Linked DNA regions of Homo sapiens: region 2 is linked to region 1. Evidence: promoter capture Hi-C in 16 types of primary human blood cells and fetal thymus (Javierre and others, 2016). All regions are on one chromosome and are shown on one strand. Each heading gives the region's core, a stretch centred on a gene start or on the middle of the fragment in contact. The rest is flanking DNA. Distances are from core to core; before and after follow the strand shown. Region 1 holds the start of CCDC30 (coiled-coil domain containing 30). Region 2 overlaps FOXJ3 (forkhead box J3).

Region 1 (5,445 bases), core at 1,925-4,424:
TGCATCCTGAAGTAGGTTTAGGCCTCCAAAAACTTCTAGATGTAAAGAATAAGGTGGTAAAGCAAACTGAGACAAAGAATTTTAAACGAGAAGAGGACAAGGAGAATGGGTGCAGTCTCCTTGTTTTTTCTCCTGGTAGGTACTCTCCAACTGCATTGCAGGGGCCAGGACCCTATCTTACGCCATAGCACATCTCCTGCCTCTGAGCAAAGGCTGAGCTTTGGATTCCAAAGTCTTTGAGTGACTCTAGGGAACAAAGTACATAGCACAGCCACAAAAACTGAAATATGCTGTCAGGTGACTTTTCACTGTAACCTTTCTTTCTTCTATTTTCCACTCCTTTCACACAAATATAATTTAAAACTCACACACATCTTAAATAAAATACATATTATGCACAGTTTTTCAATTCCCAAATAAAATTAGTATACTTTTTTCAAAAGTTGAAAACACTGTAGCAATGTAAAAAATGTTTAAAATATAAAGTGAAAAAGAAAGGCAAAATGTACATAACTATGTAAAAATGTACACAGCTAAGCAAGAGTGACAGAACAAAAAAATGAACTGTTGATGTGTTAAGACAGAGTTTCTCAACCCTGGCACTACTGACATTCTGAGCTGTTGTGGAGGCAGTTCTGTGCATATTAAGATATGGAGCAGCATCCCTGATCTCTACCAACTATATGTCAGTAGCATATCCCTAGTTGTGACAACTAAAAATGCTTACGTACATTGCCAAATGTCTCACAGGGGGCAAAACCCCACCCCACTCCCCAGGTTTAAAACTGTGCTAGAGGTCGGGTACCGTGGCTCACACTTGTAATCCCAGCACTTTGGGAGGCTGAGGTGGGCGGATCACCTGGGGTCAGGAGTTCAAGACTCAGCCTGACCAACGTGGAGAAACCCCGTCTCTACTAAAAATACAAAATTAGCAGGGTGTGGTGGCACATGCCTATAATCCCAGCTACTCAGGAGGCTGAAGCAGGAGAATCACTTGAACCCGGGAGGCGGAGGTTGCAGTGGGCCAAGATCGCGCCATTGCAATACAGCCTGGGCAACAAGAGTGAAATTCCGTCTCAAACAAAACAAAACAAAACAAAAACAAAAACAAAAAAAACTGTCCTAGAATGACAGGAATTTATTTTTTTTGAGACAGGGTCTCACTCTGTAGCCCAGGTTGGAGCGCAGTGGTGCGATCATAGCTCACTGCAGCCTCGATCTCCCAGGATCAAGTGATCCTCCCACCTCAGCCTCCAGAGTAGCCAGGCTACAGGAGTGCTCCACCATGCCTGGCTAATTTTTTGCATTTTTTGTAGAGTCAGGTTTTTGCCATGTTTGCCCAGGTTAAATTGTTTTTAAATTTATGCCTTGCTATTCAATAAATACATATTAGAAGAGGAAAGGAAAGGAAAGCCCCTTACAATATAGCATCTAACACTTTTTTCAAGAGTTAGGTTTTATCCAGTTCCAATTTAATGTGCAAGATTGAAAAGGCTGCAGAACTTGTTTTTGTTTTCCGATCTATTCTAGAGGAGAAAGCTGAATTTCTCAGTATTTAAAAACTTGACCTGGCTCTAAGCATGAGACATCACAAACGACTGCTTCTATTGGACTGAGAAATCAAAATATCCAAATCATTGTAGCCCCAAATAGCTGTTTAAAATGTGTATGTTCTGTATGTCCTCAAAATAGGTTTACTTTTAAACCTGAATACTGAAGAAGAAATAGTAAGATTCAACAAGGAATGCGTATTGTAAGACAAATTAAGTCAAGCTTTCCAAGCTAAAATAAAATTGCACTGGATCTAAATTAATCTTATGCCATATTTAAGGCCCTCTGTTCCAGCCTTTTTAGAACAATTGTGTCTGCTCCCTTGCCAAAAATATTTATTTTCAATCACTCCTTATTGTTTTCATTTATTGGCTTACATCACAAAGAATGTTTTCTGATTCAGAAATTGACAGGAAAAGAAGGCACAAGTACTATTTCAATCATCTCCTCTCCAGAAAATTACATCATATCCCCAGTGTTGGGTTCATATGGGCTTAAAGTTGAAATCCTGTCTTACATGATCACTTTGAATGCCCTTTTCACATTGATAAACACATCAATAAAATTTAATGAAACAAGGAACAACCTTCTTTCATTATGTAAGCCTGAAATGGGTCCAATACTGCAATTTTGATTTTTTTTTCCATTTTCAAAACACACTAGACCTACAGTATTTAATGTTTATATTTACCAATTTGCACTTCTCCTAGTCTCTAGTTTACCCAAGACTGAAAGGTTGCCATAGTGCAAAGAAAAACAGAAAATCTTCCCAATGACTGCAGAGCTGGAGAATGCGAAATACTTAGGTACGCAAAGCATTGTAGCAGGAAAGCAGAAGGAGGTGGTCTATAGATGACAGAGGTGGTGCAGACAAATGGACATTCAATAATGTGCAGCGTGAACAGGGAAAAGTTAAAATGGCTGTGAAATAAGCAGGATGAGAAAGCTGGTGCTTGGAGTGATGAGAGAAGTGGAAAAAGTTGTAGCTTGAAAGGCAGAAGGTAACTGACTTCATGACCTCTGATGTTGAGGATACAAAAGGCCTCCAAATCTTCATCGGGATTCAAGGTTCTGCATGACGAACATCGGCCAAAAAAAATCAGAAAACGGTAGTTCTTTGTTCGCGGGCCTACACGTAGGGGAAAGCTGCCCCTCCGTGGACTTCGTAGTGGCCTGGACCTTCGGGCGTTGTCTGTCCAGGGGCGCGTCTCGACACCTCACCTTTAAGTGAGAAAAGGAACGCCGACCTACCTCGCTGAGGATGTTCTAAGCCCGCTCTAATAATAAGCGGCAGCCTAATACTAAATGCTTGTGGCAGCTGGGTCCGGGGAAAACGGGCGAATTCTCCTTCAGGCGGAATCACTCCAGCCAGGGAATAGAAAGGCCGGGCCAGGAGGGGTTCCCCTCCTGTAGTTTCGGACCATACTGGGGAGAAGCAGAAAAGGCCCGTAATGCGGAAAAGAGGGGAGAATGGGTGCTTTCCTCCTTGGGGCTGAGGCAGGAACCTCAAGAACCAAGTCGGAAATTTTCCTGCGGAGGGTGCCGCGAGCGTCCCGGGGTCGCTCGGCCCCTACGCGCTCAGCTGCTAGCTGCAGGTGCCTACGGAGACCTGGGCGTCATAGCAACCGCGCTCGCCGCAGAGACGCAGACGCGTCCTTCCGGCGGGAACCATAGAGACGACGCACGCCAGTGGAACCAGAGACTGTGGTTCTTGTGGAGACTGTTATTATGTCTCACACCATTGGCCTTCGGGTCGGGGGCGGAGTTGTCCCGGCCGTATCGATAGTACAACTCATTCCATTGGCTTTGGAGACAGCTGTAACCATGGTAACATGTCGAGCGTTTGCGACTTAGCGAATACATTTTGTCTTGGGGCGTTCTAGCTCTCAAAGAACTTCCCGCCAGGACTCAGCTGGAGCCCCTGCCTACTAACCTTGGATTTATTTTTCTACAAGTTCCTTCATTCTTAAAGGGGCAGGAAGTGCTAGCTCAAGAGCTCTGAATTTTAGGCCTAGATCGTGTCACTAGCCACGTGGGGCACGTAAGATAAATCACAATTTTTGGATCCAGCTTATTATTGTAAAAAGGAAGAAACTGGGCTTGACTAGAATTGTCCCTAAGGCTGAAGCCCTTTAGAAGTCCTAAGCACTGAAAATTCAGGTAAGATGAACGTTATCTTCCCCACCTATGTAATGCAAAATAAAAACTTATAAATGACACAAAATTTAACATACTCAATTTATATCATCTTTTTAGATGCTCTTATTGCAAAATTCTAGTTAATTATCAAACTCGATTTTAGTCATGTTTTGGGGGCCCTTGCTTTGCTGGTATCCCAAACACAACATTTCTTGGTCTTACTCTAGTTCCCCAAGAGAATACTTCACAAATTTTTGCTGGTTCTACATGCATTATCCGGACGTATTTTACTCTTTATATAATAAAGTGCCTCAACCTCTCCTTCTGGCACTAGACCTCTTGCAAGTGTTTTTTTCTGAACTAAAAGGCTCACCACCAGCACTTGTAGCCCACTTCACTCCTGTTTATCAGTTTAAGTATCACCTACTCAGGGAGACATTCCTTGATCCTCCATCCAAGATCAGGTTCTTAGTTACCCTCATTGACTCATGTTCCTTTTCTTTATACACTTCCATTTGCTATTAAAACACACACACACACTCTCCCCCACCCCCCTGGAATTTTTACTTGTGTAAATAATCTAAGTGCTCTGAATATAAATTAAACTGAAGTGGAAAACACTAAATAATTTCATGTAGAACACTGATTGTTTTTAAGCGTTAACAAGACAGGATATAAAATTCCCAAGGGAGGTAATAATTATGGTAAAGACAAACATTAAGATCACTTCTACTTTTAACCCCATATATCCCCATTGTACATTCAAAGATGACAGTCATCATCCACATAAAGCTATGAATGCAGAGAAGAACATATTCTACTTCTTGCCCTTCAGTACTGCAGCCACTGACAGAGCCCACTGCTTTTGGGGTTTTGCAAATTGGACCTGAAGTTCACTTAAAATCATTGTCAAAGGAGCCTGGGTGGCTGGGCGCGGTGGCTCACGCTTGTAATGCCAGCACTTTGGAAGGCCGGGGCGGGCAGATCACGAGGTCAGGAGATGGAGAACATCCTGGCTAACAAGGTGAAACCCCATCTCTACTAAAAATGCAAAAATTAGCTGGGCGTGGTGGCGGGCGCCTGTAGTCCCAGCTACTAGGGAGGCTGAGGAAGGAGAATGGTGTGAACCCGGGAGGCAGAGCTTGCAGTGAGCCGAGATTGTGCCACTGCACTCCACCCAGGACGACAGAGCAAGACTCCGCTCAAAAAAAAAAAAAAAGAGCCTGGGTAACATAGTAAGACCTTGTCTCTATGAAAAATAAAATATTTAGCCAGGCATGGTGGCACACACCTGTAGTCTCAGCTGCTCAGAAGGCTGTGGCAGTAGGAGTGCTTGAGTCCAGGAGTTCAAGATTACAGTGAACCATGATTGGACCACTGCACTCCAACCTGGGTGACTAAGCATGACCTTGTCTCTAAGAAAATTTTTTTGTTCAAAGGGACTGCTGCTTCCAGAACAGTCTTGACTGCTGCAGTATTTTTCCTCTGTTCAAGGTCACATTTCCTGATTAATGAAGTATTTCAGTCTTAGAATTTCTGTCAAATCTTCTCAATTAAATTTATTGTACTTCTATTATCAGACAGACACAGGGGCTACCCTTCCCTACTCCATGAAACACCATGAATTGTATTTTAAGTCAAATATTTATGTGAAACACAGTACCTGCTTCTACCTTAGTCATCAATGCTAATTTTTCAAATTGCACCTGGACTATCCTACAGATCATTTAGGGAATTTTTTTGCACTATGCTACT
Region 2 (5,445 bases), core at 787-3,286, 130 kb after region 1:
AGAGTGTCTCCCGCCCCCCCTCCCAGCTCCATTTTTGCAGCTGGTGAGGAGGGAGGTTAACGGGATGGTTTTTCCTCTGTGATTTCCTCCGGGTGGCGTGGAAGGTGTTAGGGTCAGTTTGCTTTGCCGAGGCCGGCTGTTGGTTAGATGAAGAATCGAGAGTTGTACTCTGAAATTGAGGCCAGTAGGGGACATAACAGGGCTTAGTTTCATTAACATCTTTTTTCCTCTTCCATTAGCTGCTCTTATTCTTTTCTCTGTTGCTTAATTATAGAGAATAAGCGCTTGCTACCGATGCATTCAGGTGTATAGTTTTCATTTCTCTGTTTTACTTTTTGTGTGTCTGGTTAGCAAAGGTTTTACTATTCCGTGTTGGTGCATTCCACGTCTGTGTTGTCCCTGGTTGGATTCCTGAATGAGTTAGAGCCATTCACTCTAATTCCTGAAGGAGTTAGAGATTGGTGGGCACCTTTTTGGTCTTTTTCTGAGATTTATTTGTGTGTGTTTTCTTCCTTCTATTTTGTTTCCCAGTGAAAAAGCGTGATGTCATAGGAGCGTTATATGCATAGCTCTTTTTCTCACAAGGCAGCACTAGTTTCACCTAGTCACTTATTTTGTAGAAGCTCTTTTACTTCACTTTTCCTCTTACTCTGTTGAGTACCCATTGCACACTCTTTTTTTGAAACTGGTTTGAAACATGGTTTGAGTAGTTTTTTTCTTAATGTCTCTTCCAGATTAGGGTTTCCATCTTCTGTTTTGCTGTTTTGAGACCACAGATTGTTCCCGCAATAACAGTGAGAGAAGCCTATTCCTCCTGGTCCCTAGCAAATATTTATAGAAAAGCAGTAACTCCTCTCTTTTTCTGAGTGGTATATATTATATAGACGTGATTAAGTTTTTTAGTTTCTTAGATAAATAGGAGGATTTCTCTTTTTGCTTTTGTGTCTCAGAATTGAGGTGAATCTTCTTGGTTTTGTGCTGCCGAGGACAAAACTGGGAAGTTTCTCATGCTTTCATTAGATTTTTTTTGGATGAGGCTAGAACGTGTTTATTTTGGCTCTTTTTTGTTCATTAGTTTGGGTAAAATAAAAAAACTTAATGTTTCAAAGTCACTTACTAGATTCCAAAGTGGCCTGCATTCTCACTTTTTCACATTGTACATTCTTTGAGTATATTTTTGACATTTTTTTCCTTTTATCTGGTACAGTTCGTATATTCCCTTTCCTTCTATGTAGAATGAAAATATTTAAATATAGATTTTAGATTATATTTTTTCATTATGCTAAGTATGGGTGGGGCAGTGGAAAATGGAGAATGTTGTTCTGATACATACTGAGGCTTTTTGTTTTTTTTTGGTAAGTCAGCATTTGTGTACTTCTGTAAAGTACCGAGTTATCTATGTGTGAAGTCTGTATGAAGAGACGAATAAGATACGTGGTCTCTTGGAAAGCTTCAACTTATATCGAAAGAACAGAGTTTCTTTTTCTGTTCGGGAAACATGTACATCATTCAGAATTATCAAACTGCATCAAACTTCTCCTTGGGATAACAGTACAACCAAGGTCAAAAGTGTAAGGGACATTTGAGAAAGATACAAATTTCCAAAGGGAAAGAGGTGTATTTCAGGAGAGTGAAGGGGCCTGTGCAAAGCGAGAGAAGTGGCAATGTACAAATGATATCAAGGAGCTTGACTGTCAGATCATCTGTGTTGGTGAATAATAATAAATGAGTTTAGGATTGGTGAGGGGGTATTGATGGAGGATCTTTCAAGGATAGAGGGTTTAGTTTGATAGGGTACCACAATGGGTTCTAAAGAATGAGAGTAAGATGATGCATCTTGTTCCTGAGGAAGGTTTTTGTTTCAGCTGAGTGTCCTGGGAGTGGAGAGACTGATTAGAGTGCTTATGGAGAATTTTAGGAATAAGCTGATGAGGGTCTGATATAAGATAGTGGTTGTAGGAATAAAATAATAGCTAACATTTACTTACTGTATGACAGGTATTCTAAGCGCCTACGTTTGTTTAATTCATTAAATCTTCATAATAAGGTATTAAAATCAGAAGGGACTTTGGGCAAGTTGCTTAACCTTATGCATGTAATTATTCCCATATACAATGAACGGTTAGATGAAAGGTAGATTTTGCACTGACCAGGGATATAGATGCTAGTAAAACACATCAGTAGATGTGTGTTGGGAGGGTAGTAGTATAATGAAGAAAGAGCTTTGAGGTTTGGAATTTTGGGTCTTGAAATAGGCTAATAGCATTCTGAGAAGAACCAGAAAGTGCATCATTTCCAGGATAGGAAGATTTTCTACAAGGGCAGGGTGTTGACAGTTTCAAATGCGGTGTAGAAGTTCAGAAACAGTGACTACAATGAAAAGACAATTGAATTAAAGCAGAAGAGATAATTTGTAAACTTAGAGAGAAAATTGAAAGGAGGGGTAAGAATAGATGCCAGATTTGTTTTTCACAGGATTTGTAGAGACATTAGTATCTGATATGGTAATTATTAGTATTTCCTTAAAAAAAGAAACAAACTTATGTTCCAAAGCCAGTGATTTTATACTTTAACGCTTCTCTCCTTAAACTTTTATTCTTTTTTTTTTTTAAAAAAGCTTTCTTGAAGTATAATTCACATACCATTTCATTCACACATTTAAAGTATACAAGTCAGTGGTTTTTAGTGTATTCACAGAGTTGTGCAACCATCACCACAGTCATTTTTAGGACAGCATTTCAAAAAAAAGCCTTGTACCCATTGGCAGTCACTCCCCGTACCCTCACCTCCAGGCAGCCACTAATGTACTTACAATCTTGTAGAGATGTTGATAATTCCAAATGCCTGTTGTGGGCATTTCATACAACATACGGTCTTTTGTGTCTGACTTCTTTCACTTGCATATGTTTCAAGGCCCATCCATGTAGCATGTATCAGTATTTCATTCCTTTTTATTGCCAAATAATATTCCACTGTATGTATATACTACGTTGATAGCCATTGCTTTAGTTGATGGACATTTGAGTTTCTTATTCTTTCATTATTATTATTATTATTTGAGACAGAGTTTCTCTCTGTCGCCTAGGCTGGAGTGCAGTGGCGCCATCTCGGCTCGCTGCAACCTCTGCCTCCCAGGTTCAAGCGATTCTCCCACCTCACCCTCCACAGTAGCTGGGATTACAGGCGTGCACCACCATGCCCCGCTAATTTCTGCGTTTTTAGTGGAGACGAGGTTTCACCATGTTGGCCAGGCTGGTCTTTGAACTCCTGACCTCAAGTGGTCTGCCTGCCTCGGCCTCCCAAAGTGCTGAGACTACAGGTGTAAGCCACCGCGCCTGGTCAAGTTTCTTAATTCTTTTAAACTCCTCCCCATTTTCATTGAATCTTCACCCTGCCAACCCCTCACATGGCCTTCTTTTAGATTATAACCTCTGCCATGCATTTTGCTAAGCATTGGGGATATAAAGATGAATAAGACATGGCCCTTGAACATTCATATAGTGTTTTATTGGTTTATATACATTTTCTCATACATTCTCTAATTTGATCTCAACAACCCTGTGATAAAGGCAGAATATCTTAAAGATGAGCAATTTGAAGTTTAGGTGACCTGCTTAGGGTTGTACACTTAAGTAATTGGTGGAGCAGGTAGGTCTTCTTAGTTCATATTTGTGCTATTTCCACTACTCTGTGCTGCTGTTTTAACTTAAAAATTCTCATGTAATTTCCTGGAGACTTAGAGGGACTGGAAAATGTACTGACTCAAAGAATCACTGTTTTTTTTTGTTTGTTTGTTTTGTTTTTGAGACAGGGTCTCACTCTTGCCCAGGCTGGAGTGCAGTGGCACGATCATGGCTCATTGCAACCTCAACCTCCTGGGCCCCAGTGATCCTCCCACCTCAGCCCCCTAAGTAGCTGGGACTACAGGTGCGCGCCACCATGCTCAGCTAATTTTTGTATTTTTTGTAGAGAAGTGGTTTCGCTATGTTGCCCAGGCTGGTCGCTAACTCCCGGGCTCAAGTGATCCGCCAACCCTGGCCTCCCAAAGCGCTAGGATTACAGGCGTGAGCCACTGCAGTCAGCCCACTGATTTTCTTCCGGACTTAAAATGAAGATTTTTTTCCCTAGATTCTGCCACTTGTTTGTTCTGTGTTTTAGACAAATCATTTCATATTTCTTTTCTTTCAGAACTTTCATGGAGTTCATGTGATGATAATGTAATGATAATAATAGCTAACATTTTTTGAAGCCTTACTATGGGCCTAAAAGTGTTCTAAGTACTCTACATTCATTATCCATATCTTACAACCCTTAATATTTTATAAATTTTATAAGTAGGTTTTATAAATATATCGTAGATTTTATAAGTTTATTGTAGTTGTAAATTTTATAAATACGGTAGTTTTACAGATGAGGAAATGGGCACAGAGAGGTTGATTTGACTAAGGGAACATAGCTAGGAATGGAAAGAGCCAGGATTTGAACCCTTGTAGTCTATTTTCAGAACTCTGTGGCTCTTAATCACTACACTGTTCTGTTTACTGTGTTACGAATTAATAGAGGATAATATTTCAAGTAAGGGCATGATAGAATATGAAGATTTGATTTTGAATGTAGTTGGGGAAACAGTTAAACAGCAATTTTAACTTGACATCGCATCCGCATTTCTTTTAAAAGTGGACTTAACACTACAGTGTACAAAGATACATATTGTTTAGACATTTTTTTGTTTGTCCCTGCTCAAAACTTCTCAGCTCAGAAATTACATTATTTTCACTGATCTTCACTGTTGGCTTTGTTAGTCACTTAGCTTTCCACATTGCCACTATTCAGAAACCTTGGCTTGAGACAGCTAAAGCTCACTTTTACCTCTCTCCTCAGCCTTCCTTTAACTGTGAATTTTTGTTTTCCATTTTGAACAGTTAGCCTTTCAGTCCTAGAGGGGGTTATTCTTTACCTCTTCCACTCCAAAACCCAGAAAACACCACAGTGGCGTTTTATAACAACTGTCACAAAATTTGACCATCTTAATTGGCATAACATGATTTTAGTGCACAAATAAGAACCAAAGCATAGTGTTTTGGTTAAAGAGATTGACTTACTCTGAAATTGGAAAAGGCATCTGCTGTACAGGATTTTTGATTTAATAGAATTTGTTATAACCAGATCAGCAGAGCATTATTACTGTGGGCCATCTGTTGGAATATGGAAATAGCTTTGTTATATGGAACCAGATGTTGTTTTTATATTTATAACAATGACATTCTACTTATTTTAAGTAACCTTTTGTAGTTAGGTACCTTTGGCTGCGATTCTATTTGACATGTATATCAACTGATAACCTGAGAATGTGATGTCTTTCAAAGTGGCTATTATTCTGTGGGATCAGGACAACACAGATGAAACAAAAAGGAAATGAGACTCATACAGTGTCAAACTTTAGTG

What was found. The method cuts DNA at HindIII sites, captures the fragments that hold promoters and counts their contacts. A CHiCAGO score of 5 or more calls a contact.
Region 2: a contact is called between a fragment that was not itself captured here and the fragment with the promoter of CCDC30 in region 1, in 2 of 17 cell types (total CD8 T cells and naive CD4 T cells). The highest score is 5.9, in total CD8 T cells.

What each region holds. Positions count from the first base shown.
Region 1 is chr1:42,461,015-42,466,459 of GRCh38, reverse strand. It overlaps CCDC30 (coiled-coil domain containing 30), which reads right to left and starts at 3,174. Exons shown (of 21, transcript NM_001395517.1): 1 at 2,562-3,174. PPCS (phosphopantothenoylcysteine synthetase) reads right to left here. Exons shown (of 3, transcript NM_024664.4): 3 at 5,224-5,445. RefSeq lists a silencer at 3,228-3,277. The HindIII fragment of the contact is 5,104 bases long and covers 1,776-5,445 here.
Region 2 is chr1:42,328,995-42,334,439 of GRCh38, reverse strand. All of the region lies in intron 1 of FOXJ3 (forkhead box J3), which reads left to right. Among named protein-coding and RNA genes, the nearest start is that of FOXJ3, 3.5 kb to the left of the region's middle. RefSeq lists an enhancer at 1-230. The HindIII fragment of the contact is 1,167 bases long and covers 1,453-2,619 here.